2 separate regions of the Homo sapiens genome follow, and region 2 is linked to region 1. Evidence: promoter capture Hi-C in 16 types of primary human blood cells and fetal thymus (Javierre and others, 2016). All regions are on one chromosome and are shown on one strand. The core of a region is centred on a gene start or on the middle of the fragment in contact, and the rest is flanking DNA. Distances in the headings are between cores, read along the strand shown. Region 1 holds the start of TSPAN14 (tetraspanin 14). Region 2 overlaps ABLIM1 (actin binding LIM protein 1).

What was found. Contacts are between HindIII fragments. The CHiCAGO score rates a contact against its expected background, and 5 or more counts as called.
Region 2: a contact is called between a fragment that was not itself captured here and the fragment with the promoter of TSPAN14 in region 1, in 1 of 17 cell types (non-activated CD4 T cells). The highest score is 24.1, in non-activated CD4 T cells.

Annotation. Positions count from the first base shown.
Region 1 is chr10:80,451,857-80,458,880 of GRCh38, reverse strand. It overlaps TSPAN14 (tetraspanin 14), which reads right to left and starts at 4,571. Exons shown (of 9, transcript NM_030927.4): 1 at 4,510-4,571. RefSeq lists enhancers at 659-738, 3,456-3,505, 3,536-3,795, 3,745-4,262, 5,006-5,215 and a silencer at 3,926-4,975. The HindIII fragment of the contact is 5,289 bases long and covers 1-5,254 here.
Region 2 is chr10:114,520,113-114,527,136 of GRCh38, reverse strand. All of the region lies in intron 6 of ABLIM1 (actin binding LIM protein 1), which reads left to right. Among named protein-coding and RNA genes, the nearest start is that of AFAP1L2, 120 kb to the right of the region's middle. RefSeq lists enhancers at 1-218, 389-508. The HindIII fragment of the contact is 2,440 bases long and covers 31-2,470 here.

The DNA of each region.
Region 1 (7,024 bases), core at 3,322-5,821:
GTTATTCATCTTCACATCTTCACGTTTAATTGAGAGCGGCACTGGACACTGCCCCCCTGCCAGGGCCTGCGCTCCACCAAAATGGCTACTTGCCCTGTCTAAATCAAAAGCATACGCAATTAAGGGAGAAAATGGATGTGGAGATATTATGAATAACCTCCCTGATTCACAGTTACAGAGGACACTACTATAATGGAAGATAAGCAAACTGAAACGCTGGCATTCACCTAGACCAAAGACTCTCAAAACTTCATTCTACGCAGCTCCCTGGGTACTCTGATAGCCTGCCAAGAGTGAGACCACTGCTGGAGACCACCACCACCTCTCAATCCACTGGCAGAAAAACGGAGGCCCTGGAAAAGGTGGAAATATGCCTAAGCAGAGTGAGTTAACCATGAAGCAGAAGAACCTGAGGCCTCACCACCTCCAACAGTGTCTGCTGGCCCCGAGGGAAATCACCAGAGACCAAGCAGGTGACCAGGCACAAAATCAAGAGCCACAGTGTGGCTGACTCTTCAAAATCCTACTAACGTGGCCTGAGGGGGAAAATTTAACTAACAGGGTTCCTACTCCCTTCTACAGACCAGGGATCTAGCCCCACACTCAATCCCATCCCCAGTGGGAGTCCACCTTCAGTCACCTCGCTACCACTGCTTTCTACACCCCTATGCCTGCAAGCTCAATCCCCGAGTCCCACAAAAGTGGGGAGGACCAGGCCTGCCTGGGTATCGCTACCTGCTCCTGCTTCTAGGAAAGGTGGCTGCCCCTACAGGCCACATCCAGGTAGCGGATGGAACATGCAAGATATCCAAGGACTGACACGGCAGGGCAGAGACAGGCAGCAGGAACCTAATCCCCTTCCCATAGGCATCTTAAAGGCCACCAGGACTCAGTGGCAGGACACAGGGATCATCATGTTCTCTGTCCCTCTGTCCAAGCCACCAGGGGTGTTCCCACTAATCACTATGGGTCCCCCCAGTGAGGACAACATAAAGCAGATAAGTGATGAACATGCAGTGTGAACAAGAAATAAACCTCTGTTGCTTTAAGCCTCTGAGACCTGGGGATTGCTGTTACCACAGCAAACCGTGATCTGTCCAGACAGACACAAGCAGTGACTCCCCAATCTTCTGCATGTGGTAGTGCTGGTCTTCCCATTCCCTGGCCTTAGGGAGACAGAAGCTCCATCACCAATCAGCGGGGGTTCCGGGGTACCTGCTATGTGCCCAGGCTGTGCTGGACAGATGAGATGTGTTCAGAGGCAGGGATACAAGGGCACCTTCACTGAAAACATTCATTAGTTCCACTGTGGGCCAGGCTTGTTTGGTATATGAATCCATTTTAATCACCTCTGAGAGGAACATATTGTCTAAATTAGAAATGAGAAAACCTGGTCCGGCACAGTGGCTCACGCCTGTAATCCCAGCACTTTGGGAGGCCGAGGCGGGCGGATCACTTGAGGTCAGGAGTTCAAGACCAGCCTGGCCAACATGGTGAAACCCCATCTCTACTAAAAATACAAAAATTAGCTGGGTGTGGTGGTGCACACCTGTAGTCCAAGCTACTTGGGAGGCTGAGGCAGGAGAAGAATCACTTGAACCCAGGAGGCGGAGGTTGCAGTGAGCCGAGATCACGCCACTGCACTCCAGCCTGGGCAATAGAGTGAGACTCAGTATCAAAAAAAAAGAAATGAGAAAACCCAGCTCATATTGAGACTTCAAGCAAGTTACTCTGTGACCTCTCGGGACCACAGTTTCCTCATCTGTAAAATGGAGCTGTTGACATCACGGTTGTTTTGCTTTTTGTTTTTTGTTTTTTGAGATGGAGTTTCATTCTTGTTGCCCAGGCTGGAGTGCAACGGCGCGATCTCAGCTCACTGCAACCTCCACCTCCCAGATTGAAGCAATTCTCCTGCCTCAGCCTCCCAAGTAGCTGGGATTATAGGCATGTGCCACCACGCCCAGCTAATTTTGTATTTTTCGTAGAGACAGGGTTTCACCGTGTTGGTCAGGCTGGTCTTGAACTCCTGACCTCAGGTGATCCACCCACCTCGGCCTCCCAAAGTGCTGGGATTACAGGCATGAGCCATCACGCCCAGCCATCACAGCTGTTTTCAAGGATTAAATGAGTTATTACAAGTCAAACTTCTAGGGTGTAAGTCTCAATAAACTCACATTAGTATCACTATGAAATAATCTTGTCCTTCACTAAATTTTAAGCCAGCAAAGGTTTCCCAGGCCTGGCACAATGCCACTTTGCAGGCACTGCTAAAAGGAATTCTACCTCAGTTGAAGTTAAATGGGTCAAATTCCTGAGCACATGGTGGCATAGAGTGAGGCCTCAGGAAATAGTTCCAGAACCCAGGGCTTTCCTGCTCCCCGGCCTCCATGGGAACTTCACTTCACTGCCGCCACAACCTTCAGGGCAGAGCCATCTCCTCTCCCACTTCATACTGCCACTTCCTACATGAGAAGGACCTTCACCAGTCCTCAGAGACTAGCACAGCTGCCCAGCTGGTGAAGGGGACAATTCCCTGGGCAGCCAACCATTCTGCAGCTCCATGCCCTTTCTTCCTGGGGCAGCCACAAACCTTCAGAAGCACCCATGGGCTCAGACCCCCCCCACAACCCCGTCTCCCTAAATGATCCTGCTACGCTGAGATCAAGCTCAGATCAATAAACACTACTGAGCACCTATGCCATGTCCAGCCTGGGTTCTAAGACCACACCAAGTTCATAGCTGGTGAGGGACTTTCCAGACTTGGAATAGTGCCTGCAACAATGCCTCGCACCCCACAGAAATCTCAACCATGCTTTGTTAACTAAACTGAGGATGACATTAGGTGGCCCAAGCAGTGGAGTTCAGAGATGTGGGGATGGATATATCCAGAGTCTCCAACTGAAGTTGGGGTGCAACACAATGAGAAGGAAAGGGAAAATACATCTGGTGGCCCTGGGTTTCCAGGGCCTGTCACTATAACGTTAGGGATCGGAGTGGGATCAGACTGCGCGTGGTGGCTCACACCTGTAATCCCTGTGCTTTGGGAGGCTGAGGTGGGAGGATCACTTGAGCCCAGCAATTTGAGGCTATGATCACACCAGCAGCTAAGGGGATAGAAGGGCATACAGGGCCATTATGGTGGAGTCTGGGCTTCATTCTGGGGGTGCCAGGGCCCAGGAAGATCCCTGGAAAGACGGCCGCCCCCACCAACCACTCGGCTAGCTGAAATGTGGCAAGGACATAGGGGTGCTCCGATGGCCTGTCCCCAGGTTTCCCTTCACAAATAGAGAAGGGTGGCCGGAGCACTCAGCAGGCACTAACTGCTTCTGGACTTCAAGGTCAAGGGGCAAGGGGAAGGCTACTTTTGAGGATTTGGCAGGCCACTCTCTCACTAGCCCAAGAGCAACTCCCTCTCGGAAGGGAGGAAGATCCCCTGGAGAGCAGACCACTGCCAAGAGCACACCTGCAGAGGCTCCAATACAATGCTCTGCACAGCCGCCCAGCACCGCCTGACCTCCCGGATAGCAGCGCCAGCACAGCCAACGAGTGTGTGACACCGCCGCACTCACCACCGCTCTGCGCCCAGCCCCAGGCCAGTACCCGGGCCCACGACTTCCCCCGACTCCCCCTAGCACGGACTGTTTCTCGCCGGAGATCAACTTTAAGTCCCCAAGACAAGTGCTCCTGCGGTCCCAGGGCCAAAGTCCCTCCACACACCCTCACACAGGCACTTCCTACCCACCCGCACCCCACCCCTGGGGGTGGAGGAGAAGCAGCAGCGGCCCGGGACAAGCACAGTCCGCAGCCACAAACCTCACTCTACCAGAACTCCGGCTAGGTCAGGGGTCAGGCTTTGCTCCCAAACACAACCCCACACGACTAACGCGGAGAAGCTGGGTCACCGCCTACTCAAACTCCGGCCGTCCCAAACCCAAGCCGGGCAGAGTGGGACCCACGGCGGCGTGGGAGACTGAGCACAACCACGGCGGGGCAGGAGGAAGGGGCGGCCCGCCCCGGCCTACGCCCACCCCCACCCCGGACCCGATCTCCTGGGAGCCGAGGGTGGGTGACTGAGCCGAAAGGGTGGCCCATCCCCGAGCTCGCTGCTGGGGACGAGAAGCAGAGCCCCGAGCAGCAGCGGCCGTCCAGGCTCCCGTCGCCCTCACCCCGCCCGGCACGGGCGCGCACTCGCCGGGGCGCGCTGATGGGGCGAGGGCTACCGAACCAGGAGTGCCGGCCCCGGGCCCGCCGCGGCTCTCGTCCGCGCGGCGCCGGAGTTCGGCTCAGCGGGGTCCCGGCGGAGGCCTCCAACCTCTAGCGAGCAATCCTGGCAGACAAAGCCAGCGCCGCCCGCGGGGCCGCTCCTGGGCAGGCGGGGAGGGAGGCTGAGGGGCCAAACAGGGACCTAAGGAGCAGCCCTCGCCCCCGGAGAACGCTCGGGGAAGTCGGCCTCAGACAAAGAAAGGGGCAGGGCCCGACGCCCCAGCCAGGTCTCCGCGCTCTACTCACCCGCGCGCGGCGGCGGCAGCGGCGGCGCGGCCCGGCTCGGCCGAGGAAGTTAGAGCAAGTTCCGCGGCGCGGGGCGGGAGGGCGCGACTCGGGCCGTCCGAGCGGCGGGGGCGGGGCGCGGAGGGGCGCGGAGGGGCGGGGCCGGAGGCGCGGCGCCTGCCGTCTGCCGAGGAAGGGGCGCCGCTTCCCTGCGCCGCCCGGTGCGGCCCCGGGCGCCTGGGCCCGCCCTGGCCCCGCCCCTCCCCCAGCCGCCTCGCCCCTCCCCCACCGCACCCCGCCTCCCGGCCCGCGCGGCACCGGGGACCGCGAGGCCGGGTCGCCGGCCCGCCCCTTTGTCCCGCTCTGGGCGGTGCCGGAGGCTTGGGGCGGCCCCGGTCCGCGCCCTCCCAGTGGGTGCGCGGCGCAGGCCGGGCCTGGCCCGGGGCCGGGCACTTGTAGCCGCCGGGAGCGCTCTGAGCCGTTGCGCTGCGCAGACGCCGCTCTGGCCTTGTCGGAGCCGAACCTGGGAGAAGCACGAGCTGTGGGAGGCGGCGTCTCGAGGGATACACGGGATGACCGTGGAGAGCGGGCGAAGGATTAGGAAAATGGCTGTGGTGGAGATAAGAGGCGTTCCTGCCCGGCTTTGGAGCCTGGGGGCGGGGGTAGTCTTCAATCAAAAGAAGGATGGGGAAAAGGTTTTTATTTCTTTGTAAACCAAGGAGTAAGGACACGCTCCTTCTGGCCTTGGTGCTAAAAATACCAAGCTTTCTTTGGATCGTGGCTGAGATTTCTTCCTAACCTTTACGCTAAAGAGGTGGCTGGGACGATTCTTGTGGTGTAGGGGGGTTTCCAGGGACAGCCAGGGGTGGCGCCCCTCTTTGGATCGTGGCTGAGATTTGTTCCTCACCTTTACGCTAAAGAGATGGCTGGGACGATTCCTGTGGGGTAGAGGGGTTTCCAGGGATAGCCAGGGGCGGCTCCCCAGCCTCAGCCTCCCTACCTGTAGAATGAAGCATGCCACACCTCTGTTTCTTAAACTTATTCGGTGGCTGAGGGCCGAGTGGTCTTCTCTGTTGAGTAACACCAAACAGGGATCTATTAAAACTGGGCTAAGACTGGTTGCCACATGCCAGTACAAGCAACCAACAGGTTAATTCCAATGGAAGGAGGAAATCTTGAAATGGAGACTGTTCAGTCCATTCCCAGGTTTGTTTGGGTTGTTTTTTGAGCTAAGGTATCGCTTTGTCACCCAGGCTGGAGTGCAGTGGCATGACCATGGCTCACTGCAGCCTCGACCTCCCGCCTCAGCTTCCCCAAGTAGCTGGGACCACAGGTGCAGGCCACCACACCTAGCTAATTTTTTTTTTTTTTTTTTTGTAGAGACGAGATCTTGCTGTGTTGCCAGTGATGGTCTTAAATTCCTGGGCTTAAGCAATCCTTCCGCCTCTGCCTCCCAGAGTGCTGGAATTACACGCATGAGCCACGGTGCCTGGCTAATTTTATTTGTTTGTTTAATTAAGAGGGATGCAACCTGTCTGTGACAGCCCAGGCAGCTCTGGAAACTCCCTGGGAACCTGTCCATTCATTCAGCAGATAGTGAGTGTTTGTCTGAGTGCCTGATAATATGCCAGGCCCTGTGTGCATGGTGGGATACTTCAGTGAACAAGACAGCTGAGGCCTTTTGCCCAATAAAGTTAATTTTTAGTGGAGAAGACAAATACATAATCACAAGTTGAAGTAAAGGCTGGGACAAAAACAAGGGGCTAGAATAGAGAATAAAAGCTACCTTAGATGAAGCAGTCAGGGAAAGTGAGGAGGCGATGCTGAAATTGAAGTCAAAAGAGTAAGGAGTTAGCCTTGGGAAAAGTTGGGCAGAGACATTCCTCGCTGAGAGCAGTAGGTGCCTTTTCAGGGTAAGTTCTGGATGGGTCAGGGAACTGAAAGAAAATCAGTGTGGCTGAAGTTTTAAGCCTAGGGGAAGAGGCCCAGGATGGAGTGAGAAGGTGGGTGGGGGCCAAAGCATGCAGGGCCTGTGGGCTGTGTCAAAGAATGGAGACTTTGTTGAGCCTTGGAAGGGTTTTATGCAGAAGACTAACATGTTCTGATTTAAGGCTGTGTGTGGGTGTCAGGCAAAAATAAAAGCAGGGAGCCAATTAGGCTTGCCACAATCCAGGCCAAAGATGATGGTGGTTTGAACCAAAGTGGTGGTCATGCTAAGATGAGTAGTTGAGAGATGCTATTTTGGACTTAAGAGGACACATTGATAGGAAGGACATGGGGGCAGGAAATGGAGAAACCAAAGATAACTCAAGTTTCTGGCTGGGGTAAGTGGGTGGATAGTGCTTCATTTATTGGATCAAAAAGCATGAACCACATCTCAGGGAGTTACATCAGGAATTCTGTTCAAGCCACATGGAGCTTCAGATGCCTGTTAGAGAACCAGCGGGGTTATCTCATCACTAGGAACTCAGAAGAGAGGCCAGGGCGGGAGAGGGGCTTTGGGATACATCAGCATAAAGATGCTCAAGGCCACGGG
Region 2 (7,024 bases), core at 1-2,500, about 34 Mb before region 1:
AAGCCTAAGAATCTCGTTTCAGTACAAGCTTATGCCTCAGGGACAATCACTGTCGGTTTCACATGCAGACAATAGTGAGTGAATGCAAAGAAATGGTACTTTCCTACCTGCATTTAAAAAAAGAAAGAAAGTAAATCTACTCCCCCTCCTTTTTTGGGAACATGGACTGGCCCATTGTGGTTGCTGGTGTGTTGAACTAGTAAGTAAAGCGAGGAGAGGAGGCGTGAGAGAGCGTGCCTGCCCGCCGCACACGGGGCTGGTTTCCGGAGTGCGTCTCTAGAGGGATGCACGTTGCCTTAGCCGAGCTTCGGAGAGAAGCCTGATATGTAACCCAGGCAGGTGGGAGCCTCAGTCTGTCGGGCTGAGGTCTGGCATCTACAAAGCCTCTTGGCCGTGTTCTGAACTTGAAGCCTGGAGGAGTTCTCTGCTCAGCACAGCCAAGGAACAGAATTAGAAGAAAAGGAACCCTGGCCTGAGGTAAAGCGGACATTGCACAAGGTGACCTATGTCCTTTGCTTTGCGTGGCAGATGTGAGATTTCTGGCTTCCTTCGTGAGGTCGGAGGCCGCTCGGATCCTCCAAATGTGGTGGCTGGATGCTGGCGACAGAAGTCACTTTTATTGCCCTGACATACATTTATGTAAACTTTTTGTTTTCCTGATGATACAAAAGAAACGACAGGAGCTTTTGTTCATCGATACAGAACTAGACTGAAGGGCAGGAAAGGCTGGTTATTTATTTCACTGAGAAGTGTAGTGCGTTGACCTTTTAAACAAGGCTTATGTTTTTTTAGGCTGCTACCCGCAAGATTGAAAGGAGACTGTGGTTTTCAGACTTTGGGGTTGTTTTGTTTTGTCTGTGGTTTGTAGAGCTCTGTGAAATTTACATTTGAGTCCTGTTTGGGGGATTTGGTGGTGGAAGTGGCACGTGGGAATGAGTAGATTTAGCTATTACTGTAAATTATGAGATTTTTTTTTCTTTAAGAAATACCCAATAAATGAAAATAAGGAAACAAAATGTTTAGATGTTATTCATGTTTTATTGCGGCTCTAGGTTGAAAGAGCTTGACAATTGCCTCTCTTTCCACCTTTGATATGCAGTAAAAGAAATCTAGAGATTCTGGCCTTTATATTGAAAATAGTTTTCCTAAAAACCCAGTTATTAATCGAATCATACTGTAAAGACTTTTTTTGGGGGGAAAGTGTTTTAAAATGTGCTATACTAGCATGAAAGAAGAAATGGGACCAGAAAGTTATTTCATCTGTGAAAAAAATAGATTTATGATGTTGGAAAAGAAAAAAAGAAAACGTGAGTTTGGCCATAAGCCAGCAGGAGTGTGGTCGCTATAGCAGCTTCATTTGTCACTTAGCTGAGATTGGAGACTTAAAAGAAAACTGAGCCTGTTTTTCTCTCAGACAGCCTCATAAGGAATGTTAAGAGGATGTGAAGTTATTTAGATTACCAAAACAGGTTCTGACAAGTAAGTGAAAATAACTCATTAAAATATAATTGTTGCCATTCTATAAATGGATCAAAAGGCTTGTTGAGTCACTGCGTACTTATAGAATAGGTGAATTTGCCACGGCTCATTGGTATAAATTACTTTTGAGAAGGCTTTTTAAGACTAAGCGTGAGGCCTTGCCAAGCATCCCTTATAACACTTAGAATGTTTTGACCAATGTTTTCGAGGCGGTTGCCTAAGCATTTTCATGTGTCAGTGAGTCTAATCCTCGCATCAGTGGCTTATCCAGTAAGCTCAGGGAATATTATATCCTGACAACAGAAGCCTGCAGATTTTTCTCTTCAACTAAACAATAGCTCACCTAAAAGGACAGAAAGTGAACTACTCAGTTCTTGTAACCTGACTTTCTGGAGGGATGGTCATGATTTTGGCTCCTGTAGAACAGGGTTTCTCAACCTCAGCATTATTGACATTTTGGATGGGATTATAGTTTGTTGCAGGGGACTGTCTATGGGATGTCTAGTAGCATCCTTGATCTCTACACACCAGGCGACAGTAGCACTCCCTCCCCAGCTGTGAGAACCAGAGATATCTTCAGACACTGTTAAATATTCCCTGTGGGCAAAATGCCCCTGGTTGGGAATCACTGCTAGAGGGAAACCTGTCTTGGGGCCTACTGCTGCCAACGAGGGGGAAGGGTCTATGAGAGGAGGCTGGAGTCCCAGGGAGGCCTGGCGGGGTCCAAGGAACAGTGGCAGGACAGGTGTTTTTGCCTGACCATTTGGTTTTTATTTTGTTTGGGTTTTGTCTGAAATCACATCTTGGGAATGGGGTATCAGATTCAAGGACTTGCTGCGGATATACATTCTTCTGCCCCCTTTTCCTTCTGTGCCCTTGTGGGACTTATTTTATACAGTGCTATGATTGGTATAGTAGTCAAACTTCTTTCAATTGAATTCTAAAGTGCATTCTGGGGATATACTATTTTGTCTTTTTTTAAAAAGAAGCTTATACAGTGATCCATTTTATAAAGCAAATAGTTACCCATACTTTTCCCTTCTGTAAATATAGAGTTTTTTGTTGTTGTTGTTGTTTGTTTGTTTGTAATGTGGGTTTTTAGTAAATCTGGCCATGCCTGTTAGTTTTTTTTTCTTCTAGAATCTGCAAGTGAATGCTTTCATTTCTTTTTTCTTTTCGCCATCTGTACCAGTGGGTCTCAAACTGTTTTGATTTTTTTAGGAATTGGGCCTTGTTTTGTGAGTGCAATTGAAGAATCACAGCTTTTTTCCAATTTACAGATAACGATGAAGTCAATGGCTGGGATTTTTTCCGTTTAAAATTTTTCTTACACCTTTAGCATTAATGCTACTGCTTGTTTGCTCTCAAAGGTTTACAGATTACAAAATGCATGAAGCTGCGAGTGCTGCTTTTTCTTGGTGTTTCTCCAAGAATATAGTACATTGCACTGAGCACCGTGACTTCCAGGAGCTACCACCACCACCCAAACCAGATGAGATGTACCACTGCATAGTGCTTAGTGGTGCTTAGCATTGGCTGAACAGATAGGGAAACACCTTGACTTATTGAAGTCTATTCTTGGTGACAGACCTGGACTGGCCCATAATGTTATCAGAGAGCTGTGGTTTCTGCTTTTGATTGCAAAGCAAATCTTGCATTTCTCTCCACCTGGAGGTACCAATGTGACACACACCATGTGCTCTCTAAGTAACAGTTCTTCGTAATTAAAATTCACCCTCTCCCCCCATTCAGTAGACCAAAGATCCCTGAGTGCAGCAAATGTGAGCATTTTAGGTCTATTTGCCCCCAGGATATAGCACAGTGCCTGCTCATACTATTTGCTCAGTCATTGATGAACAGACAAATGAATGTCAATGATTTCTATGGAAAGACCACCCAGGAGCTTGGTCAGCAAGCCACATGTCTGCAGCCTGTGTCCATATTTCTGTAATTTTTTAAAGAGGACAAATCCAGTCACCATCTAAGCAGGTTTTAATGTCTGAGGGGCTACCAGAAAACTCTTTGAAGGATGCAGGAAGAGTGGGTCTGTGGGTTGTAGAATTTGGGCCTTCATAAGGCCCAGAAATTAAATTTCTGCTCTTATTATAAACCCCACAGGTTAATGCTTCTTCATGGTTTCAATAAGATAAAGAGCACACTAACCATAGGGTCTGACCCAAAGGCAAGGTATTTACCACCTCTTTAAGAAAACTCGCCAGTTGAAAGAGCTTATGATCAGAGGTGAAAAAACGGCCCTTGTTGATCTATGTGTCCTGTGGGGAGTCAGGTGGTGCTGCCCAGAGAACCTACCTGGTTCTCTGAACCAGGTTATCAGGGCAAGGGGGGTGCAGATGGGGCAGATGTCTTGAAATTGGAAGTTTCCAGACTGTGCAGAATGTAAAGATGCCGTAGTGAGAGACAGAGAAGCCAAAGATCCTCTCAATCTCTTGCTTTGGTTCACAAACCAACCCCAGCTCCATGGATTTTTTTGTTTTGTTTTGTTTTTTGAGATGGAGTCTTGCTCTGTCACCCAGGCTGGAGTGCAGTGGTGCAATCTTGGCTCACTGCAACCTCCACCTCCTGGGTTCAAGCGATTCTCCTGCCTCACCCTCCGAGTAACTGGGATTACAGGTGTGTGCCACCATGCCCGGCTAATTTTTTGTGTTTTTAGTAGAGATGGGGTTTCACCATGTTGGCTAGGCTGGTCTTCAACTCCTGACCTCAAGTGATCCACCCGCTTCAGCCTCCCAAAGTGCTGGGATTACAGGCGTGAGCCACCGCACCTGGCCTAGCTACATGCTTCTAAGCAGAGCCCTGGGAATGAGCAAGCGTGAGCCTTTCTTGTACCTTAAGCTGCAGAGGCTTAAGGTGCAGCCTTTGACGGGAGGGGACCTTCATCAAAGAGGAAACAAACCCTGCTGCTTTATTATTCGCCAAGCCTGGAATGTTTTTAGCAAATACGTGTTTGTGTCCTTCTCAGCATTGCTGGTTCACACTGAGGCCATTTGTTGCTCATAAACACTAGATGAAGCAAAAATACTTGTTTACACTTAAGACTGCTTTTATCTTTCCTTACTGCTGAATAGTAATTTTTTACTAGATTGTCTTGGTTCTGTGCAGCTGGTTCCTTATGTCTGTGCTCATATCCGTATACCTTGTCCAAATAAACATACTTGAAAACATAGAGAATTGTGTTTTGTGAAGTTTAGAACATCCTCTAACAGAGTTTAAGCTGAGCTTTCTGCTTTGTTTTGGCAACTTGTTTAGGATGCCAAATGTATCTGGTCTGGCAACAGATGAAAGAAGATGTTGGCCCTTATATAACGAAGTTTAGGGAATAAGTGGGGGGTGGGGTGGATTGCCAGGTTTCCTTTGTGGTTTGAAAAGAGTTCTAAAGCATGAGGAAAACATGTGTTCGACTGGGTTTTTGTTTTGCCTTTAAACCTTGGAATTTTGAAAATCTGTTGAAATATCTTCTCCTGGCTTATGCAGCCCTCTGAGATTAAGTTTCTGATTACCTACATCTTCCCTCCTCTTTCATTCCAGCCCTGCTAGCCTTCTTTCTGCCCCTCAAGCACAGACACTGTCCATCTCTGGGCTTTCACTGCTCCCTGAGCCTGGCACATTCTTCCTCCAGATCTTGGCTTCCTTCTCATTATTCAACCTGCCTCTTTTGACTTGGAGAGGTATCCTCTAATCACCTAGCTAAAGTTGCTTCCACCTGCCCAACCCCTAGGCCATCTTCTCTCCCCTGGTTCTGTTTTAGGTTCTTCATGGCACTGTTCCCCGACTATCTGGAATTCTTATCTGCTTGTATCCATGTCTAGTATCTGTCACTCATTGCAAGAATGTATGCTTATGACAGGTACTATCATATCCCCGAAACTAAAACATCATCTGATAGAAGGTTGGTGCCCAATAAGAGGATGAGTGGATGGATAGAAGGATGGATGAATGGGAGGGAAAAGGAGAGGGAAGGAAGGAAAGAAGGAGCGGGGAAAGGAGGGGGGTTGACTACCGAGTAAATTTCTACTCTCTTTTAAGTCTAAGAGCTTCTCTCCTGTGATTCCTCTTTGACTCCCCAAGACAGTAGCCTTGGAGAATTTTCTCCCCACACCCACCTCACTTTGTACATTACACTAACCATCTTATCCAGTTACAGTCACCTGTTTGCTAAGCTCTGCATACTAAGCTCTTGAGGACAGGAATGTGTAATAAAGGTGGTTATGGTTGTAATTATTGTTTGTTCTTATTGCCTTAGCACTTTATAAGCATACTTCATCAAAGTCCTTTCATCAACTCTATGGCTTGAGTATGACTCTCATCTTTGTTTTGCAAGTAAGTAAACTGAGGCCCAGAGCAGTTGCCGAAAGGCGTACAGATGATTACTGCAGGGCCAGGAATTGAATACAGATTTCTTCTTGGTAGCGCAGATTATACAGCCTTTCTTTCCTCCTCATCAGGTGTCCAGTGCCTGACCCACAGGTTCATCACAGGCTTTTGCCAAATGAATGAAACCTAAGACCTCACCTCCTCCCTTCTCATCCCTATTATTTGAGCTTATACATATTATTTATACTATTTATAAACATAAACATGAGCCTATCAGTTCATAATCCAGTGACATCTCTAAGGATAACTAGCTGCTGTATCTTAAGTCACTTATTTTTATTGTTTTTTTAGAAACAGGGTCTCACTCTGTTGTCCAGACTGGAGCACAGTGGCACAGTCATAACTTACTGCAGCCTCAAACTCCTGGGCTCCAGAGATTCCCTGCCTCAGTCTCCTGAGTCCCGGGACTACAGGTGCATGCCATCATGCCCAGCTAATTTTTTTTTATTATTATTTTTTAGAGACAGGGTCTCACTATGTTGCCCAGGCTGCTCTCTTAACTCCTGGCCTCAAGTGGTCCTCCTGCCTTGGCCTCCTGAAGTGCTGGGATTACAGGCATGAAGCACCACACCCAGCCTACGTCATTTTTCTTTCTTTCTTTTTTTTCTTTTTTTAACCGATAGGACGTCATTGATTGCTTAAACCCTCTCATTCTTCTTATGTAAACAAATCTATTAGTCAAAAGTTAAGCAGCTGCTGAGTCACATGGCACTTTAATCCAGGGTTACAATTGGCAGCCCTGGGAATGAGTTCTCCTTTTTTTAGCTCCCACGATGGCACTGATTTCCCCTAGAATATGAAACTTACACCAAGGAAACCACCATGACAACTGTAGGTAGCAATTTCAAGCAGAAAAGACTAGGAAAATGCCTAAGAATTTTAAACCTGACAGAGTTCTTCTACATTTTTAATATAACCAAGTGCTGTTCATCACCTGCCTTGACACCGGTGTTTGTGAGGTTGATTGGCCCCAGGATGTTCCACTGCAGAACAGAAGGCCAAGATCAGAAGCCCTTGTCGACATATAAATGTAATGCTGTAAGCTGGCTTGGAGCTGTGACTCCATGGAGCCAATTCTAAAATGATTAAGACTTCTGTCTATAGAGAGTTGAGGTGGAGACTGTTTACTATGGCCCTGCCCAGAGGCTTCAGC